Regions from separate parts of the Homo sapiens genome. Here regions 1, 2, 4, 5, 6 and 7 are each linked to region 3. Evidence: promoter capture Hi-C in 16 types of primary human blood cells and fetal thymus (Javierre and others, 2016). All regions are on one chromosome and are shown on one strand. The core of a region is centred on a gene start or on the middle of the fragment in contact, and the rest is flanking DNA. Distances in the headings are between cores, read along the strand shown.

Region 1 (3,362 bases), core at 501-3,000, 1.3 Mb before region 3:
AAGGATGTAAGGAATTATGTATATGTTTTTCTTCAGTACACCACAATTCCTTGAGCTTTCCCCTCCTCTGCAGCCTTTTCCTTCTCCCCCTCCTCCCCCCATGGCAGATGTTGTGGTCTCATTTGATTGCATAGGAAAACTGCAGTGATACAGCAAACACCCAGAGAGATATGATGACAAATGGGTCCAGATCCCGGTAAATTACTTTCTGCTCAAATCGAAATTTCATTCAGTTTGTTGCTAGCAGAGATGAAGTAATCTAAATTGTGGACTCAGGAGCAGATAGAGGGAAGTTGGAGCAAGCATTTCATTATCAAGAGAGAGAGAAGGTTAGGATGAAAGAGATGAGCAGAGGCAAATCTTAAGTGTTGACACCATGATTGAAAAGGTTAACCCATACACATTATATATCAACCTGGATAGCAGAGAGTTTCTAATGGAAAGTCTGCACTGATGGAGGTTTACGGGAGTTTCAATACACTGAGCATGATGTCTTCTTAGATATACAATCAAATCCTCTTAACCCTTTTGATGACTCATATCTGAAGATATGATTAAAGTACAAAAGAGTTCTTCATATAATTTCAAGGACACAATGCATTTAAACTCCAGTCATGAATTGTATCTTTTTTTTTTTTATGATGAACCTAGTAATCTGATAAAATGTGTGTAGAACAGAATTGTATTTGCTAGAGGTGTAAGTCAATATTTTGATTAAATCTGGGGCATCCTCTGCGGTAGGCAGAAGTTTGTTGTCCCACAAAAAGGATTTTTCCCAGATTATGTAAATCACTCAGAAAATCTGAGGCTTGAGCCTAAGAATTCAGCCTGTCAAATGCATTCCAAAGGGATGCCCAGAGTCTGGGGGTGTTTTTCTTTCTTTTTCTTTGGTTTAGGATTATTCACTGGTGTCAACCGTTATTCTTTGTTTCAGGTTATTTGGAAATAGCGGTGCTTGCAGCGCTTGCGGACAGTCGATTCCTGCGAGTGAACTCGTCATGAGGGCGCAAGGCAATGTGTATCATCTTAAGGTAGTATTTGCATCTCTCTTTTTTTTTTAAAAAAAAAATCATACCTTTCCTACCTACATGGGGGCAAAGCATTTCTCCTTGGTATGAACTGTTTTCTCAAGCTGCAGACACTTGAAGGAATGATTGAAATTGTAGCATGGCAGTGATGGTTACACATCCACATGCACAGACCACGCTTCCCCTATGCCACAGACAGAAGTACACATGTATTTGGATTTGTCCCCATTTAGCCTGGTCCAGTTGATAGCAATTTGGCTTACTGTTTTCTGGAGATCTGTCAAAGGAAGAAAAAACGCTAAACCCTAAGTGTCTCTGTACTTGACAGATACCTGCTTAATAACAGGTTATAAACTTGTGACCAAAAAAAGACTTAATTTTTACCTTGTTTTCAGTGGGTTTGTTTTTCCCTTTCAGTGTTTTACATGCTCTACCTGCCGGAATCGCCTGGTCCCGGGAGATCGGTTTCACTACATCAATGGCAGTTTATTTTGTGAACATGATAGACCTACAGCTCTCATCAATGGCCATTTGAATTCACTTCAGAGCAATCCACTACTGCCAGACCAGAAGGTGAATACCCAGCAATTACTAATAAGCTTTATTAGAGCAAGTTGGAAGGTTCAACCTCTTAACCTAGCAAGAGAGTTTTCTTGGGTGGTTGTATTTTTGCATGCCCTTTTAAAGAAATGTAGATTACTAGTTGTACATAGAGTGTTCAGAAGTAGGATAGCTGATTAAATTGTGAATCCTTTCTAGTTAAAAAAAAAATCCTGACTTTGTTATATCTGTAGCTTCACTCACGTTGAACATAAGATTATCACATGCAAAAGCAAACAAAATGTAAAGCTTCCATATAACTGGTTATTTATTCCATTTGACAATTTTGAAATTCAGAAACATGATGTGATAGGTTATTGTGGAAGAAAAATTAGAACATTTATGGTAGGAAAAGAGAATAAAGATCTTTGTTATGAAAGAATGATTTCTGCGTTAGGAATAGCAATCTGGACACCTGCCTTCCAAACCCAATTTACAATTCATTTACTTTTTAGAAGAGTAATTTTACAAAACATTCTGTAACTTCATAAGAGGGCATTTTTGTTCATTGGCGGTACCATAACATTTGAATAAGTTATGGCTTTTAAAACCAAGTTCTTGTTCTTGCTAACCCGCTTAGTGCCATTAATAGTGCCATTAGAAATTATGTATCTTGATTCTTGATCCACAACTTGAAAATCCTTGTACCAGAATTAAAAATTAGGAAATTATACAAGTATACAAATCATGTAGTATTAGAAGATATTCCAGAGGGAAAATTGGTGATCAACAGTTGTCCAGCACCCCCAGTACTGGATAGTTTTAGATCTATTTTAATCTCCTTAATAAGTCCTATAGCTATGCAAGTGAGTGCATTTTGATAACTGCTGTGCCTAATTTGTAACAATTACTGTCAACCTTCAGTTAAGAGACTGTTCATTCCACACCGGCCCAGAAAAGAGTGAAATGTATGACTCGTGTGCATAATTTTATTCACATCATATTTCATACTGATTATGTATTGATGACATTGATTCATTTACTCTTTACAGCGCCACTTGCATGGATATTAAATCTTATTGACCACAGATGAATTTTAATTTCAGATTGGTGATAGATTTTTCCATCAGCTCTGATAGTATGTTTGACTTTTTCATCATTAACCCAGGCAATCACACAGCACTGAGTTATTGCATTGAAACAAAAAGTGCACACTTCACTTGGTAATTCTTTATGGATTTACAATAGGAACTTCATTAATGTCTGTTGTAAGGATCACAAAAAAAACAACATTTATCTGCAAATAGGAATTTAGCAAGCTTCAAAAATCTCGGGGAAAAAAATAGACTTTTTTGTCTTCTGTAATGCATTTTCTTAGTGCGGTGGTGGAGGTGGGGGTTTGACAAATATTTGAAAACTTTTAACCATTAAAATTATGCTGCCATATTTTGATGCTTATATTTGCCCTTTTCCCTTGCTCAAGTTTATGAGGTAATTTTAAATGTATGTTCTGTTTCTTAGTGTTAATTACATGACATTATGTGCACTTTAATTTACTAATATGGGGAGCTACATAGAATAACCATTTTAAGAATAAAAGTTGAACTTTTTAATTGCAAACTAACCAGTCACTGCTGATGAGGTATTTCAAGCTTCTTCAAGGAGTGCCAAGACATATAAATGCTTAAAGATTTTTGTGATTTGGATTCTAATGAAGTGAATCTGCAGGGCAGAGTTGAGAACAATGAATGAGCAACATAAATATTTGGAGATACCTATTCAGAATAGAGGTAA
Region 2 (3,147 bases), core at 611-3,110, 1.8 Mb before region 3:
ACTCTACTAGACTAAACAACTAATTCCAGGGCCAAGGTTGAGACTGCTTTTTGGAATTTGGTAGTTTTTACAAGTAAGTTCCTGAAACCATGCAGCAATACCTGTAAGATGTTCCAGAGAATGCTAGATTTCCTCACTTCTGAAATCATTTGGAAAACCTCATAGTAGCTACTGTTTTGAGGACTTTGGGTTAATAGGAATACAGTTATTCTAGAATTGGTAATTGGTGCCTCACTTAGTCTTGAATAGGATGTCTAGTGCCATGGAGTAGTCACCTGAAATAGTTGATCTCAATTAAGATAATTCCAGGATGTCTGTCCACCACTCTGGTAGGCCTTCTAATAGCTTTTTGGCACTTAGAGAAATTGAAATAATAATGAATGTTCAAAGATTGCTCTCCAGAAGACCATTTTTGAAGGATGTACTTATAGATGAACTTCATAATCATGGTTCACTATAGCCTAGTTATTTTTAAGATCTACCCACCTACCAGTACCTGTACTTACGTATTCTGCCTTTCTGCCTGTTAACAATAGATGGTAACTGTCAGTGCTCCTGTTCGGTCATTTGTGCACCTGATTCTGTTGCCTCACTTACCTAAAGACATGGTTCCCGAAGCTTTCCCTCATTCTCCTGTCACAATGTATTCTTGAAAATTGCTAAGAGAGTGGATTTTAAGTGTTTTCACCATACCAAAAAAAAAAGTATGTGAGGTAATGCATGTTGTCTTAATTAGCTTGATTTAGCCATCCATGATATATACATGTTTTAAAACATGTTGTACATGATAAATATATACAGTTTTGTCAATTACAAATAAAAAAAAACTATCTTGGTAAATGTTCCAGGTGAACGTGAAAAATATGTATTCTGTTGTTATTGGCTGAAGTATGCTGTAGATGTCGGTTGGTAGTATTGTTATGGTGTTTTGTATTCTTGATTTTTTTCTGCCTCTTCATCAGTTATGGAGAGGGGTTTTGAAATCTTTGATAATTGTGGATTTGTCTGTTTTTCTTGTAGTTATGTCACTTTTTGCTTCATGTATTTTGAAGTGCTGTGATTAAGTATATGCACATTTAGGCTGTCATGTCTTCTTGATGGACCAACCCTTTTTTTTATACAAGATACCATCTTTATCCTTGGTAATATTCTTTGCTCTGAAACCTACTGCTGTGGTGTTAATGTCTCCCCCAAAATTCACATGTTGGAAACTTAATCTCCGATGCAACAGTATTGGGGCGGGAGGTGGAGGGTGTTTAGGTGATGAGGGCTCTCCCCTCATAACTGTATTAATACTGTTATAAAAGAGCTTGTGGCAGTGTGTTCTCTTTTTTCTACGTAAGAAGACAGCATTTGTCCCCCTTTTGCCATTTCTACCCCCAACCATGTGAGGATGCCACAAGAAGTCCCTCAACAGATGCTGGTGTCTTGATTTTGGACTTCTCAGTTTCCAGAACTGTGAAGAAATACATTTCTGTTTTCTATAAATTACCCAGTCTCAGGTATTTTGTTATAGTACCACACAATGGACTATGATACTTACTTTGTCTAATACTAATACAGACACTTCAGTTTTCTTTTGATTAGTGTCAGGTGGTATATCTTTTCCCATCCTGTTAATATTAACCTACTTGTGTATTTATATTTAAAGTGGATTTTTGGTAGACAGCATCTAATCTTTCATCTAATTTCACAATCTCTTTTGTTAATGGAATGTTTAGAACACTTAATGTGATTATTGATGTGGTTGGGTTTAAATTCGTGAGTTGCTATTTGTTTTCTGTTTATCTTAACTGTTCTGTGATTCCTTTTTTTCTGTTGTCTTTAGGATTAAAGGGGTATTTTTAAATTCCATTTTTTAATTTGATGACTTACTAGCAGTGCTCTTTGTTGTTGTTTTTTTTTTAAGTGGTTGCTTAAGGGTTTATGGTATACATGATAGAATTTCATGTGTAGTATAAGAACCTTAATATATTACCACTTTTTTCTGGGTTCTTGCTATCGTCATTATACATTTTACTTCTATACATGAGTCCTACAATACATTATTATTTTTGCTTTAACTTATATTTTAAAAATATATAAAATGTTTAAAAATTTTTTAAAAATTTGCTGACATATTTACCATTCCCAGTGTTCTTCATTTTGTGTGTGTGTGTGTGTGTGTGTGTGTATGCAGATTTTCATGTGGTACCATTTTTTTCACTCTGAAGAATTTCTTTTAACATTACTTACACTTAAAAATATACTGGTGATGAATTCTTTTCATTTTGTGTGTCTGAAAAAGTCTTTATTTGCTATAGTGTTTGAAGGATATTTTTGTTGGGTATAGAATTCTAAGCTGACATTTTTGTTGTTTCAGTACTTTAAAGATATTGCTTCATTGTCTTCTGGCTTGCATTGTTTCTGATGAGAAGGTTGCCATCATTCTTTGTTCAACTATATGTAGCGTGTCTTTTATTTTTCCTCTTTTGCCTACTTTTAAGAGTTTCACTAGGTTTTTAATTATTTAATTATTAAATTATGTTTCTTGTGCCCTTGTATTATGTTTCTTGTGCCTGGGGTTTGTTGAGCTTCTTGGATCTGTGAGTTTACAGTTTTTATTACATTTAAACATTTTTGGCTATTATTTCTTCACGTTAGTTTTTCTATGCTGCTTCTCCTCTCAGGAACTCAAAATACACTTACATTAGACCACATGAAATTGTTCTACAGTTCAGTGATGTTCTATTCATCATTCTCAGTCTTTTTGTGTGTGTGTGTGTTGTTTTAGATAGTTTTTACTGCTAGGTCTTTAATTCACCAATCCTTCTGCAGTATGTAATCCACTTTTAATATTACCCAGTTTATTTTTTATCTCAGGCGTTGCCTCCCACTCCTCCCCCTGCCCTTCTAGAAGTTTAATATAGGTCTTTAAAAAATTATGTATCATTTCTTTCCTTAACATCCTGTATTAGCCCGTTTTGACGCCCTGAGACTGAGTAACTTACAAAAGAAAGAGGCTTAATTGGACTTACAGTTCACATGGCTGGGGAAGCCTCACAACTGTGGCAGAAGGCAAGGAGAAGCAAGTCACATCTTATGGTGGCAGGCAAAAAATGAGAAAGCTTATGCAGGGGAACGCCTTTTTTTTTTTTTTTTGAGACA
Region 3 (3,164 bases), core at 240-2,739:
AACTCCTAATCCTTTCTGTAACTCCAAAGCCTAGGAAACCATCTGGCTTTTAGTTACCAGTAAAGGTAATCATATCCCGGCCTTTCCAAGTGTTCTTTCATGTATTTAATTATCATCTTCAACCAAGGCAATATACTAGACACATAAATAGTTGTAAGACTTGTGAAGTACACACCAGAAAAATTCTTTATCACACATATGATAAGTTAGAGTTCAGAAACTGTGGCCACAGAACTCCAGATCTTCAATACATGTTTGCTGAATTGATGTATGAGACTTGAGAAGGCAAAAGGATAGACGTTAAGTCCTGGCATCAGGCCAACAGAGTTACATGGAGCGTGTGAGAAGTACATAATGTTACACTTCCTAAGAAATATGTCAACGAATGCCCTTTCTAAGTAGCAACGTACCTAAATAACCCTTACCACTCTCTCCAGGTAGTTTTAACAAAGGTATTGTACCGCAGCTTCAAAAAATCAAAAGTTACGCGTTTACCTATCCATTCACTGCTCAGACAAAACAAAAACAAAAGCTACCTGTAGGAGACTTCGAAATTCCTTAATACCATAGTGTCATTAAAAACAAACACCTAGATTTACTTTACTTAGCTATATTTTACTAAGTAGTCAGGTTAGCTTTAATGCTTACCACGCCAAGGAAAGGTGGCTTTTTTCCTTTCCCGAGGGTAATCCCGTCCCACCTCCCCCTCCCTTAAATAAAGTTAAAACAACCCAAAAAAACCCAGCTAATTCTCAGCTCTGTACAGTTCTCCAGTACAAGCAACAGTAGTTCAACCTCAAGAAAAAGACATCTTAAAGGCCGTACATTAAAAGTTGCCAGGGATCCAGCCGCTTACATTTCATGAAAAGTACAGACCATACCCGTTTAGCTAGCTGTGCACCTTAACTGGTCGAGAAGGCGCGCTGGGGGCTGGGTTTGAGGGTGAGCAAAAGGCAAGATTATTAGTTTGGGTTGACGTGGGGGTCAAGGGGAGAGCAGAGGAATAATCTGTAAGATCTGAGTCCCGAAGCTCTTTGGGTTATGGAGGTTAGAAAAGGGCCTGTTAAAGTTAGGCCCAAGTTTCGGCAAGGTGGAACTGGGAAAAAAAAAAAAGAAAGAAAAAAAAAACGAAACCCGAAAAAACAACAGCGAGCAGGCTCCCGAGTTCTAGCGTTCACAGTGAAGCCGTTAAACGCAGCAGGAAAGTAGGCGTGTGTTTTCTTCCTCTTCCCGCCTCCCCAGAGACTCGAGCCCAGTCCTTTCCCCTCATTTTCACCCCAGCCGAGTCCAATGGCTGCCCTCGCCGCGGAGTCGGGTCGGAAGACGCCCCGCCCCCTCGCCGCGTTCGCCCTAGGGAACCCCTCCGCCCCACCTTCCCTGCCCGATGAGGGGCAGTGGCTGCCGCCGTCACGTGTGCTGGCAGCCGCCAAGTGAGGCCGCTTTTGCGACGCGGTGACAGCCAAATGGTGCGACAGGAGGAGCTGCAGCCGCGGCCGCAGCGCCCGCACGGAGAGGCTTGAGGCGGCTCCTGGCGTCGCCCAGAGGGAGCGACTAGACGAACAGTCCGGTGAGGGCGGCGAGAGGAAGCCCGCTACGAGTGCCCTAGCTCCCCGCCGCTCTCGATGAACCGGACGGAATAAGCCGCGCCTCCAGCAGGGGCTGCGCCTCCATGAATCCCTAGTTGTTTTTTTTTTTTTCTTTCTCTCCCCTCTCCTCACCCCCACCCCGAGCCCCGTCCCGCCTTCTCCCTTCGCCAGAGGCGGCCGCGTCCAGGTGCGGAGTCCATACCGGAGCGCAATGGCGTCCAACCCCGAACGGGGGGAGATTCTGCTCACGGAACTGCAGGTAAGGGCCGCGGCCCTGGTGAGAGGCGCTGGCGGAGGAGACAGGGAGAGAGCCCCGCGCGGCGTCGGGGACCGAGGAAAGCCCTGCGGCCGCCGCGCCCCTAGCCCGCTAAGTGCGGAAACTCCGGGATGTCACTCGGGAAATGCTTCCCTCGGGGAACCGCTTCCCTGGGGAGCCGGACCCTCTCCCCCGCCAAAGCCCTGGCCTGCCACCGCTTTGGTTTGATTCTGCCTACCAGAGGGGACCCCATCTCTGCAGCCCTGCTGCAGCGGGAGCCTGCTCTCGCCTGGTCCCCGGAGAGGCCGGCCCGTCGCCCCCTCCCTCGGTGTCAGAGCTACCCGCGAACGCCCCTGTTGCCCCCTCCCTTCGCGCGGCCGGGCCCCGCCCCGCCTTTCCTCCGTACACCGCTCCTTAAACTCCTTTGAATGACTCCCAAGCTGTTTTCTTGTCCCTCCCCCTCCCCTCAGACTCCGCACAAAGAGCGCCCCCATAACTTCCAGCCCCTAGACAAGTTTTTTTAAAAAACGAGTCTCACCAAATGTTTGCTTCACTTCAGCAGCCCTCTTCAGGTGACAGAGTTTCTTTCCTCTATTTTGAGGGTTATCTTTTTCTTTTCTTTTCCTTTCTTTTTTTTTTTTTAACCGAGTGATAAATACAGGGTGCCTTTCTCTGCTACCCCTGCCCAGATCCGGGAGCTCAGATGCTGATGCTTTTCAGACTTTCATTTTCCCTCTCATTTGAGCACCAGAGAAAGAGCTAATAAGTTGTTTACTAATGAGAAAGCAGTCGACTAAGGGAAAACATTGGGCACCACATGTCTGCAAAAGATGAGAGCAAAGTAGATCGCTTAGTTAAGTCATGTCGAGTAGCAATGTTATTTCCCATTTCCAGATAAATATTTGATAATGTAGGCACGATTTTCTTTAGATCTCTATGGTGTACATGGGGACTTAAGCTACCCTGTCGGGTTTTTCATTACTTGGGAGTGTTCCAGAGATGTTTGTTTTTTGACTTAAAAGTTATTTTGCTTTATTTTAATATAGTTATCTTTTAGCTACTCAAAGATTGTAGATGGGAATTAGGAGAAAAAAATAGCATGCCTGCATTTCTTTTTGTGTGTTGGACAGTTAATTTTTTTTAAAAAAAAGACTAAATCAAGAAATTCTGAAGAGTTGATGTCAAAATTAAGTATTGCAACTGCATCTAAATTTCTTGTTTAAATATACTTTTTAAGAAATCTCTTTATAAGTTTGGTTTCTTGTGCAGTCAGACGTAAGCTTGAAAACTTTGGTATAATGGTTGATATTTCCTCCACAAAA
Region 4 (3,205 bases), core at 441-2,940, 1.3 Mb after region 3:
TTTTGTGCAAAGATCCCTGAAGAGAATGGTGTATTTTACTGACAATTTCTTATTGACTCTCTTTTAGGAATGGATCGTGATTATGGCCCTGGATCTTATGGAGGTCTGACATTCAAGGATATTTATCTAAAAATTCTTCTTTTGAGTGCCAGTAAAGGTGAGCATCATATAACTTTTTTCTTTTTAAACTCTTATAGGGATGGATCGTGACTATGGCCATGGATCCTATGGGGGTCAGAGATCCATGGATTCCTACCTAAACCAGTCATATGGCATGGACAATCACAGTGGTGGTGGTGGGGGTAGCAGGTAAATTGCTTAATCATTTGGCCAAATAATTAGACAACTATAAGATTTTGGATATATTATTTTAAGTACTCTTTAGGCATGTTATGATACTTGAACTTCACTGTTTGCTATTGAATCATCACCTTAAATATTTAAAGGTGTTAATTAATGGGTATAAAATTTAAATCAGTATTACTGGCAGACGTTATTTTAGGAAAACACCAGATAACTATATCATGTCAATATAATAGAGTAAGATACACTTTTTAGCAGTGAACTTTTAAAAAATTCTTTTACTTTTAACTTCTTGTCAATCAAAGTATCCTGAAAAATGATATAAAAATGTTATTGAAAATATTATTTATGAAGCTTTTTCTTAATAATTAAAAAAAATCTTTTCTAATGTGGGGTGCTATGTAAATTAGCAAAGCAGTCTAACTAGAATGGATTTTACTGAACCAGTCTAACATTTACTTTCCAAGAAACATTCAGGACATATTCCTTTAATTCTAATTTTAAAGGAAGAGCATATTGCAATAATAAAAATATTTTTAAAATTATGTTCAGGTTATTTATTGACAGGTACTACTTACACCAAAGCACTTGTGCTCTAGGCTAGAAGCATTGTATTAAAGCCATGAATACTATACCTTTGACTAGTCGAGATTGTATTTATATTTTCCTGTTACTACTGTATAAAGCTTAAACCTACTTAAACAACTACAAGCTTTAAGGTTGACCATATTTCAGGAGAAGGGGTGTCTACTTTTTGAGGCACAAAGGTTCCTGCTGAATATAAGTAAAACTAGTTAGTAGACATGTGAAACAGTCATCCTTCTGCATAAATTGAAGGATCCGGATTCCTTAATGATGGACTGAATGATGCTTACTTTCCTTCTTTCTGCTTCCAGTGTACCACTATGGTTTATAGTAAAGAAAAATTAAGAAAGTGAACAGTTGCAACTATTTTGCTTATGTGATAGATGTTTTGAAAAATGTAGTTGGAAATAGGAATAATTTTTATATGGTTACTAGGATTCAGAAGTAAATCTATTTAGTGATCTGTAAATAATTGAAGTAATGTAACACTTAATGTTTTAATATGTCAGTTATTGCCCTTTTATATTGTGAATGTAATGTGCATAAGCTATATCCGTAGATGTTATTGTTTTATCTCATGTGTAATTGTGGGCCTTTATAAAATTGTGTTGTAAGATATCAAGCAACTTTTGTAATCCATGCTTTGGGTTTGTGAGAAGGAAGATGATTTATTTCTTCTGTTAACTCTCTTAAAACCTCGAGGAGACTGTGTGCTCCCTTTTTTAGGGTAGTTTTATGTGATAATTTCCTGAAGGAAATAATTTTGCAAATAATTGAATATATTATAAGATGTATTCTTTCTCATCTGCCTTGAAAATTCATATGCAGAGGGTATATGTTGGTGATCTTTTATGTTTTATCTGTTTATCCTTCTAGATTTGTTAGATTTTCTAGTCTACAAGTAAAAAGTGATTGAGGATTGATTAATTGACCTTGGCTGAAGTTTGGCAGATTGTTAAATTTTTATAACCAGAGATAATTCCCCAAATTTTGACTCCTACAGACACAATGAAGCAGTTTGTGATATAGATTATTGGGAGTGCAAAAGGATCTCTCTGTGTCACAAATAACCTACATCTAAGTAGACTTCAATTTGTGTCCCTATTGAAAGCCAAAATATTGTAAATGTTTTGTAATTTTTAATATTAGGGATAGATTCAAAAAAGTTTGAATAGTTTGTGAACTTTAGCAAATGACCTTTTCCAAGACTAGGGCTGGGCTTAAATAATGACAGACAAATCTTTTCTTCTTCATAAAATAGAAAAGCTGCTAAGAAGCAGATTTTAAAGCTAAGTTTTACTAAACTCAATTCATATTTATAATCTGACTCAGATAGCTTTCTATCTGGTCTCACGTTGAACTGCCCAGCCCTAATCAAATGTGAACAAAAGTAGAACTGTGCAAACCAGTATGGTATAAATGAATTTTAGTTGATAAATGTCATCTGATAATTTGTCTTTTGAATTGTCTAACATTAGTAAGCTTACTTTTGTTTTTTCCCTCACTGTGCAACTTTTCCAGGTTTGGACCTTATGAGTCTTACGACTCCAGGTCTTCTCTGGGTGGGCGAGATCTGTACAGATCTGGCTATGGTTTTAATGAACCCGAACAAAGCCGCTTCGGAGGTAGTTATGGTGGTCGATTTGAGAGCTCCTACCGGAATAGCCTTGACTCTTTCGGAGGTAGAAACCAGGGCGGGTCTAGCTGGGAAGCACCTTACTCCCGTTCAAAATTGAGGCCTGGGTTTATGGAGGACAGAGGAAGAGAGAATTACTCTTCCTACAGCAGTTTTTCTTCACCCCATATGAAGCCTGCACCTGTAGGCTCTCGGGGGAGAGGAACGCCTGCTTATCCTGAAAGTACGTTTGGAAGCAGAAACTATGATGCTTTTGGAGGACCATCAACAGGCAGAGGCCGAGGCCGAGGAGTAAGTACAACAGAATCTTTTCAGATTCTTTTCACTAGTCACTCTTTTAAACCCTTTCAAGACCATCGTTTTCAACTAGAATAAACACTGTTCATCCCGGTGTATTTTGAAGCAAAAGCTGAGTCATAAACATAATTTTTAGGTTGACTGTAAAAGTTTTTCTAGCACCTCAGAAAATAAGTGGCAGTTTGAGATGATCATAAAGTTGTGCCAAATCTCCCTTTATTAAAAAGGTGAGGCTACTGGTTTGGTCTAAAAGGGGTTAAAAGGAGTTGCATTTTCCTTGTAAACACTAGCAGTTTTGCTGGTGGAATAGTTTGTGGATTATTGTGAAAGGTCACTGAACCCTTTTTGAGTTTTTGAGTAGGTTAAAGGTGCAATGTATGATAA
Region 5 (3,265 bases), core at 287-2,786, 1.8 Mb before region 3:
CAGGTTGAACTGTCCGAGAAGATCACAAGAGCTGCAAAGCAAGTTGCTAGAAAAGCCTAACTCTCTGCATGCCTCCGATGAAAACTCTGCCCCAAAAGCAGACACCTGAAAATAAAAAATGGGAAATAAAACACAATTCCATATTTATACTACAAAGCTTTCCAAAAAGAGAACACGGGGTTGTCAAAAACTAACACATTGAAGACAAGTTACTGAAATGTTTCATTTGGAGATAAATTCTTTTAAATTTTAATTTAATTTTATTTTTTTTTGAGACGGAGTCTTGCTGTCGCCAGGCTGGAGGGCAGTGGTGCAACCTCGGCTCACTGCAACCTCTGCCACCTGGGTTCAAGTGATTCTCCTGCCTCAGCCTCCCTAGTAGCTGGGATTACAGGCGCATGCCACCACGCCCAGCTAATTTTTGTATTTTTAATAGAGACGGGGGCCACGATGGTCTTGATCTCCTGACCTCGTGATCCGCCCACCTTGGCTTCCCAAAGTGTTGGGATTACAGGCATGAGCCACCTCGCCCAGCAATAAATTCTTTCTTAAACTCTGTAACCTTATGTAATAGTCTGGTTTCTCCCACCTCCCCTACAAGCTTTTTTTCTTAAACATCCATCATCTTTCAGCTTAGCTAAAATATGGATTAAGAAGAAAAGGCATATCATTGTTCATGATGTTTATCACATAAATATTTTCTTAAAGATTTATTGTTTTAAAAAGGAATTTTCTTATAAGAAAAAATAATTTTTGTTTCATTTTAAGAACTCAACATCTGTTCATATGGGTCTATGGAGTAAGATTAGCTGTAGGGTTTATCTACAGTCACATCCAGCAGAAGAAGGACGGGAAAGGGGATGGTGCAGGCAAGAGCACGCCAGAATTCAAACTTTTGGTTTTAGGTAATAGTGCCACCAGTTACAAGATTCGTGACCCTGGGCAAACTATCCTCCCTAAGCTTTAATTTCCTCACTCATAAATTAAGGGGCAATACTTCCTACATAAAACAGATTGCTATGGTTACCTTACATAAATCGTTACATTAAATCAGAGATGATTTAATCAATCAGAATGGCTGACAAAAGCAGGCTTTCAACAATATTCCCTTCCCTCATCCATTCTTTTTTACCTATCAGTGAATGTGGTATACCTCCATTTGTCTAAGGCCAATCCCTCTACTTCCTCTTTGGATTCTATCTTAACAGATACTTCATTTCATCAATACTTCAACCTTTAGCTATATTTAAGCCCTATGGTCCTAACTGCTCTTCCCACGTTCTGTCATTTCTGAATTGTTACTATAACTTGGTTTCTATTATCTTTATTTTTTCCTAACACCCCAAACTCATTAATATAGCCTGGTTTCTGCTCCTACTACTCCACAAAATTTGCCCAAAATTACCAAATGCAAAGGCATTCAAAACTGTTCTGCTTCAACTACCCCGTCCAAAGGCCTGTCCTCCTTTACTTTTCTCTTCTATGCATCTCTTAAATGCTATTGTTTCCCACAGTTCTGTTTTTGGCTCTCTCTTAGCTTTACATGCCTTCTATTTATTACTGCATATTTATCCATGGCTTCAGATATGCATTTATTGAAAACTCTCAAGTATTTTTCTTGAATGTCAGGCTTCCAAAGCCAACAGTCCACTCAATATCACATTTAGGTGTTGAATATGCATTGCAAGTTCAAAATCTGCAACACTGAAACTTATATTTTTCTTAAATCTATTCTTCCTAAGGTATTCAGTATCTTAGTAAAATGGCATCATTTCTCTGACAAGCTAGTTGCCCAGATCAGTCATCCTACTGACCTACACTCCATATTCTTCACCATTCTCACAACCAATTAATATATTTTTATAATTCTCTTAAAAAGCTCTCAAGTCTTTTCCTGCCTCAGTGGCTTAAATGCTCACTGCCAAGGCTACTTCTCATTACTTCCTCAATTCCTCCTGCTATAAGGAATTCCTATAGTATCTTGAAGTATAAAAGCCCTACTCAAACACACTTTTGCTCACAGTCTCCCCTATATTTAAGGTTCTGTTTCCACTTCTTCACCTTGTAACATCTTACTTATTTTCAAGAATCTAATCAGTATTAGTCTTTTAGGAAGCTTTCACTGACCAAAAAAATCAGATCTCAATCATTAGCCAGAGTACTTTTCTTCTCCGAGAAACTTGTGCACAGTTGTAAAACAGTACCGTTCGTGACACTGTACTATGTAAATCTGACTCCTCAACAATACTATGAACTCTTCTGAAGGCAAGCATTAAGTTGTTTCTCTGTCTTTCCCTCACTTGTGACAGTTTTCATATATCTGTTGGATAAATAAATCGCACAAAGCCATAGCGTCAGGTAGGGGAAATTTCAGATTGACTGCAACTGACTGATCTTCTAGACTAAGGGTATGCAAACTTTATGTGAAGGGCCAGATAATTTTGTTAGGCTTTTGTGGCCATATGGTTTCTGTACAACTATCTAACTCAGCCATGGCAGTGCAAAAACTAGTCACAGATAACACATGAATGAATGAATGTGTCTGTGTTCCAATGAAACTTTGCTTCATTTTGTTATGTTAATTTGTTCTACAAAAACTGGGTTGACTGAATTTGGCCCACCAGCTGCAGTGTGTCAATCCTTTTCTAAACTCACCAGGTAGATTAATATCCAGTGGCATTTCCCAATGAAAAGAAAATTTAAGTACTTGTTGGCATATTCACCCAAAATGCTGACGTGATATTTTATACATCTTTAATCTTATCTCTGTAATAATGTCATATGTATAATTTTTCAAAACAGATGAGACATCCCAGCCTAGTGGGAGGGAACTGTGACTTTATTGGTTAATTTGTGTGTTTGATCTCTCTAGTTTAACTATAAGACACTTGCTACCATACTAGTACTTTGGGTAATTTCTCCATCAGTAAAGTGATCTGCCTCATTTATTTCACAGGATAATTTGAAAATCAAATGTAACAATGAGCAGATTGTGTTTTCCAAAGACAAGACAATCAATATGTATCAAAGGCTGCATCAATGTGTACATATCATTTCACATGTTCTTACAATGTTAGTCCTCCACTGAGAAGTGGGGTCTATGTTCCCTCCCCTTGAATCTGGGCACGGGCCATGACTGTTCTGAACAACAGAGTTTAAAGGAAGTTATGTGATTCTGAGGGTAGGTCGTAAAAGAGCAAACAGCCTCTGCCTGGCTAGTATTCTTTCTTTCTAGGAACATCAACTTTGGAACTTAGCCAACCTG
Region 6 (3,063 bases), core at 510-3,009, 1.1 Mb after region 3:
AGTGTGGTGGCACCATCTCAGCTCACTGCAACCTCCGCCTCCCAGGTTCAAGCGATTCTCCTGCCTCAGGCTCCTGAGTAGCTTGGATTACAGGTGCGTGCCAACATGCCCAGATAATTTTTGTGTCTTTAGTAGAGACGGGTTTTCACCATGTTGGTCAGGCTGGTCTCTAACTCCTGACCTCGTGATCCTCTTGCCTCGGCCTCCCAAGGTACCGGGACTACAGGCGTGAGCCACTGCACCCGGCCTATAATTTTTTTTTTTTTTTACAAACAGCAAAACATTCCATATTCATTATAATAGTGGGCTGTTTTCAATAAAAATATCACACCACTAGTTGTTAAGTTTTAAAAGACCTCTCATCTCTTAGATCAGCAAATCTGACACTGATTAGATCACTTACACACACTCCCTGCCCATACACCTCCTTCTTGGCAGTGTGTGGAACAGGAGTGGCTGCTGGCAAGGAGGGTCGGGGAAGGAAAGTGAGAGCAAAAGGGCCGAGGGCTCAGAATCTGGTGGCATCTTGTAACGGGTCTCGGGCAGTCCCTTGAGTGTATTCTGGACCTCTCTGTTCATGTTCCTGTTTGGGCTGCTCTTCTTCACGTCCAATGCCTGAGGGCCAAGTGCTCACCATCCAAGGGTCAATTCTATCAGCTCCTCTCTGAATCCTTTTCTGAAACCCTGGACAATCATTCTCTTTAATGTCTCACTGTCTCTGAACCGACACCTTCCTGAGTACCTGTAACATTTGTGCAGCATGCTTATTAAGAATATTTAGATGCTGGGTAAACGTTGATTGAACATTTGCTGACATGGAGAGATATTGGTAGAAGACAGATTAGACTTCCGATGGTTTACAGAAACACATGGATTCAGATAAAAGAAGATATGAAAGCACTGGGTTGAACCACATATTTTATTACAACCAAATAACTCCAAATATCCCGCCTTAATTTATTTATTGGCCCCTGCCTCTGCTCACCCACAAAAAAGACTGCAAATGAACCCCGATCCTACAACAACAACAACAAAAAACGGTGACATTATCGGGCTGCAAAACCCTCTTAGCATAGAATAATCTTTTCATCTGCCTCTTTCAGATGTAACATATTTTTGACGAAAAGAATGGGATGAAAACGGCGGGCTCAGATAAAAACAAGAACCGACTTTCCAATACAGCTTCAATAACAGACGGAACACATGAAGCTGAGAAACTCTCCATGCCAAGTAGTAGTTGTGTGTGCCCCAAAGCTCAGATAAGTACTTCTCCTTAGAGTTGGAAGGCACTTAAGTGACTTTTTAACGTAATTCAACTCCCCACCCCCAGCGCCAAGTCTTAATATCAGAGTTTTAGTCGACGGGACAGCCTCCTTCGCCCAGGACGGGTGAAGGCTCCTGACCATGCCTCGCAGCTAACTGGCAGCTGCGCCTGCCCGGCACCGAGCCCTGCCCAGGTGGACGCTTGCGAGAGCATTACGGCGATGGTTATGTAGGCTGCCGTTCTTCCCCTCCCAAGCACCTGCTCCGCATCTAGCAGTCGCTCGCCGCCAGTCTCCAACCCCGGGTCCCCTCCCTCGCCACACAGACCCCGTCCGGTCAGGCGCTGCAGGGCCACCGGAGAAAGCGCTCGCAATCACATGGAGGCCCGGGCCCGCCCCATTGGCTGCGGCCGGGCCAGTCGCGGCACTCGCCGGCTGCGGTTGGTCCCAGAGCTGCAGCGCCTGCACGGGCCCGGAGTCCATGTTACGCTTTGTCTAATTCCCCTCGTTACAGAGTCATGTGCTGCTGCTCCCGTCGCCGCTGCTGCCGCTGCCGCTGCCGCCGCCCGTGGTGCCCCGGCTCCTCCGCCGCGCTTCGAGGTGGCAGCCGCGGGCGGGGCCGCGGGAGCAGGGTCCAGGGTGCAGCGCGCCTTCGCCGCCCCGGCGCGTCCCGGTGCAGCCGCCGCCCGCCGCGGGTGATGCCGCCACCTCCGGCCTCAGCATAAGCCGTGGCTTGGCGGCCGAGCTGCACCCCAAGGTTGGTGCGCACCTCTCCCGGCAGGGGCCGGGGGCTGCGAGGGAAGGCGACGCGCAGGTGGAGCCGCGCCGAGCCGGAGCGCGCAACCCTGGCGCAGGCGCCGCGGCCCGAGCTGCGGTTGCGGCCGGGAACTCATTCGGGGACGTCCGGGGGTCGGGAGGAGGTGGCGGCGAGCGGAGTGGGCTCCCGTTTGCTGCCGCCAGGGCCTGGGAGATTGTTCCGCTTTCTGCAGTCTGAGCGTCGGCCGCTTCGGCCCCGGGCGGCCGGCCCTGCGGGAGGGGAGTGCGGCTTCCTGGCTCCTGAACCCCTCGCGCGCGCTCCCTTCTCTCACCTCCCTCCGCCCTATCGGAAAGGCGGGGAGAGCCGGTTTCGGCTCTGCTGGTTCCTCCCGGAGGTGGGTGTTTGGTGTCTGGCCTTGCTGGCCCGGCGTCCAAAGGTGAGCCCTTTAACTTCTCCAGAATCGCCTCCCCTCCGCTTCCTTCCTGTGCAGGGTGGGCTGCGCTGGGAGCCCGGCGGGCGGGGGCGGGGAGGTGAAGGCCCGCGCCCCGCCCCCCGCGCCTGTGGGAGGGAGCTGGGGGCCCGCAGGTGCACCCAGCCGTCCGCGGGCCGTCTCCGGGTTGGGTACCGGTATAATCCGCTTCTAGCTTGTTTGGAGGCGTGGGCTCTTGGGAGCGGGACTTCTGCTCAAATCCTGTCCAGGGGCTTGAAAAGGAGGAGAATTGGGGGTGGTTGCCGGGAGGACCAGCACCTCCAGTTACTGGAGGGTTGATAGGGGCCTTCTCCTTTCCGTCACCCTTTACTAGGGGGTATCCCTTGCAGATAAATGAGATTTTTTGATTTCTTAAAAAGCCAGCTGCAGTGAAGAAGAACTGCTGCAGGTCGAGGGGAAGAGAGGTAGGTCCTTGCTGGAGAGGGAGAGGTGGGCTGTGAGGTTCCAGGAGCACGCACTTGGGGTGTGTGTGGCCGAAAGTATGGAGGTAGGGTTGTGGGAAGGAAACAGCCGAGATGAGAGGGAGGGCGCACTCAGGATGTAGGCGGAGAGAT
Region 7 (2,986 bases), core at 387-2,886, 1.4 Mb before region 3:
TATTGTCAGAGAGTATAGCAGATGGCATTGAAAAAAAATGCTGAAAAGAAAGTCTATTTTATTCTTCAGTTATTTCTCCAAATTTGAAAATGGCTTCCCTTGAATGTTTTCCTTTTAAATGAAACTTTCAAAAAAATTATTATCTTAGACTAAAGGTCTTAAATATATTTTCAGTGATTTCTTATCACACAGAGAAATTGACAAATTTGCTTTCTCTGTCAGAATGTTTTGAAGCTAGAAAAGAAGTGGTGATTCATCAAAAACAATTTTATTATGAAATTTGATTTATGTTGAGAAATATAAATGATGATGTTATAATGTGTACCTCTGTGTGGTGGGAACACATTTTAGTCAATTGAGTTATTCAATTTTATTATTTAAAAAAATCCATATCTGGTTGTTCTTTTTATTCTAAAAAATTTATGGTGCTGTATAGAGAAGAAATGCGTGCTTTCCAAGTCCAAGGACAGCTATGGATTGTACTTCCATAATTCCAACAGAGTCATTCATTACAATTGGATGAATAAATATTATCATATTTTCATCAACTTTTTTAGTGAACAAATAGAAACCAATGTTATACTTTAAAATACATCTTATTACAAATCCACACAGAGAAAAAGCTTAATTATATCAACACTAGAATTAAAACTGACACTAACAAAAGAAATTATGGTTTTGGGCCCTTAAAATTTCTGAATTAGTAGCCTTTCTTTTACCAAGAAGAGTTAGTGGGAACATAAGGGAGAACGAATTACATCTTAATGCCTTAGTTTCTCTATCAGTAAGTGCTCATTTCCATCGTCTTGGAGAGAAACAGTAATTAATTTTAAACAGAATTGCTATTTTCTGCTGGATTTATAACTTCAACATATATTCTTAGTAATAACCACCTCACATATATACAAGTGGCCCAGTCATCTATATACCCTCTTTTGTAACTATTATGAAATTAAATCTATCCATGCAAAGACTTGACTTTAATAAGCAGTAGCTATTGACCCACTAGACCATTTAAAAGACCTTAATGAACATATAATACACTCACACATATAGTCTGATAATTTATTTGCAATGATAGATGCAGAATATCACTGTGATTGAATATTGTTGACAGAATTCAGGCTTAGAAATAGGTAGTATGAGTAAGCCAAACAATTTTTTCTATGGTATCATTGCCATGAAACAGATTCACATATCAAGATTTGCTGGGCTGAGCACAATGGCTCACATCTGTCATCCCAGCACTTTGAGAGGCTGAGGTGGGAGGATCCCCAGAGGCCAGGAGTTCAAGACTAGCCTGGGCAACCAGTGAGACCCCTGTCTCTACCAAAAAAAATTAGCTGGGCGTGGTGGTATGCACCTGCAGTCCCAGCTACTGGGGTAGGGGTGAGGGGGCTAAGGAGGTGGGAGGATGGCTTGAGCTCAAAGTTTGAGGCTGCAGTGAGCCTTTAGCCTGTGACCCATCCAAGACCTTGTCTCAAAAAAAAAAGAAAAAAAAAAGATTTGCTGATAGTTCTGAGGCAAATTTGGGGGATTTGTACTGTTCTGTTGCTATGCTAATAAACTTTTACGAAGACAATGAGTAATTTCACGACACTATTTTAAAGTAGCCTTGCTACATCAGGCAAAATGCTGGGTCACAGAGGTGTTTTCTTCTTTCCTATTATCTTTTTCACCTTTCTATCAACTCTAGGAGTTTCAAATACCTTAATCAAATAGAATAATTAAAATCAAAATCTACATCTTAAATTATATTTCCAGTCACAACAATGTCAATGCTGTTTCCTTTTCCTCAGTGATCTGTTATTTTCTTGCCATAAAATCAACTTCTTCACTATGCTTGTTTATTACCTTAAAAAGAGTAGTTAGGGTAGAACTTCCTAAATATTGATTAACATAATTTGGTGGGATACTTACCCAACGTAGTCATCTGGATTGCTTTAACAAAAAACAAACAATAATATTCTAATAAGGCAATTATTAGAAACATTTATCACATGAAACATTTAGTGAGATATTTATAAAGAATTTTGAGAAAGACTAAAAAGGCAGTCAGTAAATTCAAAGTATTATTAAATATTATCAATATTTTAAAGCCAAGATATGGTTCCGTGAAATATAGGCTTTTCGAGATGTTGAGTTCTAGGTAAACTCTTATTATTATTATTATTTTGCGACAGGGCCTCACTCCCATTTCCCAGGTTAGAGTGCTGTGGCACAATCATGGCTCACTGCAGCCTCAACTTCCAGGGCTCAGGTGATCCTCCCACCTCAGCATCCCCAGCAGCTGGGACTACAGGCACATGTCACCACACCCAGCTAAAGTTTTGTATTTTTAGTAGAGATGGAGTTTTGCCATGGTGCCCAGGATGGTCTTGAACTCAAGGGATTCACCTGCCTCGGCCTCCCAAAGTGCAGGGATTATAGGCGTGGGCCACTGGGCCTGTAAACTCCTATTCTTAAATGAAGCAGCAGGTCCGACTATACTTACTGTGCCATACACCCTGCTGCTCAGACGACAACGCCACCACAGAAAACTGGCCCAGGACCTAACCTGCCCTTCCTCTTCCTTGGGTTTTTTCTGTTGGTAACTACTGTTCCCTTTTCTCTCCACACCTTTTACACTCTGGAATTGTTGTCCTAGACTCAAGCTTTTTGTATTCACGTTGGAGGAAACTGAATATCAAGGGATCTCTGTGATGGCAGCAATAAAGTTGAGCAGATTTTTAAAAATTTTCCTTCCTAAAAAGACTTTCTTCAAAAACGGTTTTGCATTGACTTTAAAAGGACAGAATATTTTTTCCTGAGAAAGAGCTGGGGCATGTTGTCTTGGAGGTCATATCAGCATCAAATAGCCTAGACTTTCTCCAGACATTAAAGGCTGCATAGGTCTGTGTAGAACCTCTGGCTGTCCATGGGAGATTCTTAGCGAACTGTCACTTGGAGAAAAGAATGATTATGATTGAAGGACATAAACGAGAAA

The links. The method cuts DNA at HindIII sites, captures the fragments that hold promoters and counts their contacts. A CHiCAGO score of 5 or more calls a contact.
Region 1: a fragment that was not itself captured here is called in contact with the fragment with the promoter of PKN2 in region 3 in 2 of 17 cell types (total CD4 T cells and non-activated CD4 T cells); the score reaches 7.8 in total CD4 T cells.
Region 2: a fragment that was not itself captured here is called in contact with the fragment with the promoter of PKN2 in region 3 in 1 of 17 cell types (non-activated CD4 T cells); the score reaches 8.9 in non-activated CD4 T cells.
Region 4: a fragment that was not itself captured here is called in contact with the fragment with the promoter of PKN2 in region 3 in 1 of 17 cell types (activated CD4 T cells); the score reaches 5.7 in activated CD4 T cells.
Region 5: a contact is called between a fragment that was not itself captured here and the fragment with the promoter of PKN2 in region 3, in 1 of 17 cell types (activated CD4 T cells). The highest score is 6.3, in activated CD4 T cells.
Region 6: the fragment with the promoter of LRRC8D here is called in contact with the fragment with the promoter of PKN2 in region 3 in 1 of 17 cell types (neutrophils); the score reaches 6.8 in neutrophils.
Region 7: a fragment that was not itself captured here is called in contact with the fragment with the promoter of PKN2 in region 3 in 1 of 17 cell types (total CD8 T cells); the score reaches 11.8 in total CD8 T cells.

What each region holds. Positions count from the first base shown.
Region 1 is chr1:87,338,602-87,341,963 of GRCh38, forward strand. LMO4 (LIM domain only 4) reads left to right here. Exons shown (of 5, transcript NM_006769.4): 3 at 935-1,031; 4 at 1,446-1,601. Among named protein-coding and RNA genes, the nearest start is that of LMO4, 11 kb to the left of the region's middle. The HindIII fragment of the contact is 250 bases long and covers 1,626-1,875 here.
Region 2 is chr1:86,920,274-86,923,420 of GRCh38, forward strand. All of the region lies in intron 1 of HS2ST1 (heparan sulfate 2-O-sulfotransferase 1), which reads left to right. Among named protein-coding and RNA genes, the nearest start is that of HS2ST1, 7.2 kb to the left of the region's middle. The HindIII fragment of the contact is 2,489 bases long and covers 617-3,105 here.
Region 3 is chr1:88,682,784-88,685,947 of GRCh38, forward strand. It overlaps PKN2 (protein kinase N2), which reads left to right and starts at 1,490. Exons shown (of 22, transcript NM_006256.4): 1 at 1,490-1,845. The coding sequence starts at 1,798. PKN2-AS1 (PKN2 antisense RNA 1) reads right to left here and starts at 2,421. Exons shown (of 4, transcript NR_110682.1): 1 at 2,381-2,421. RefSeq lists enhancers at 1,325-1,654, 1,685-1,764. The HindIII fragment of the contact is 6,383 bases long and covers 1-3,120 here.
Region 4 is chr1:90,004,936-90,008,140 of GRCh38, forward strand. It overlaps ZNF326 (zinc finger protein 326), which reads left to right. Exons shown (of 12, transcript NM_182976.4): 3 at 68-103; 4 at 198-309; 5 at 2,410-2,815. Among named protein-coding and RNA genes, the nearest start is that of ZNF326, 11 kb to the left of the region's middle. The HindIII fragment of the contact is 1,355 bases long and covers 1,014-2,368 here.
Region 5 is chr1:86,903,344-86,906,608 of GRCh38, forward strand. It overlaps SELENOF (selenoprotein F), which reads right to left. Exons shown (of 5, transcript NM_004261.5): 2 at 1-105. Among named protein-coding and RNA genes, the nearest start is that of SELENOF, 9.2 kb to the right of the region's middle. The HindIII fragment of the contact is 1,155 bases long and covers 960-2,114 here.
Region 6 is chr1:89,819,273-89,822,335 of GRCh38, forward strand. It overlaps LRRC8D (leucine rich repeat containing 8 VRAC subunit D), which reads left to right and starts at 1,760. Exons shown (of 3, transcript NM_001134479.2): 1 at 1,760-2,019. It overlaps LRRC8D-DT (LRRC8D divergent transcript), which reads right to left and starts at 2,522. Exons shown (of 1, transcript NR_185885.1): 1 at 902-2,522. RefSeq lists silencers at 1,289-1,348, 1,789-2,138, 2,239-2,338, 2,429-2,638, 2,510-2,729. The HindIII fragment of the contact is 10,555 bases long and covers 1-3,063 here.
Region 7 is chr1:87,322,687-87,325,672 of GRCh38, forward strand. No RefSeq gene overlaps it. Among named protein-coding and RNA genes, the nearest start is that of LMO4, 4.7 kb to the right of the region's middle. The HindIII fragment of the contact is 2,031 bases long and covers 622-2,652 here.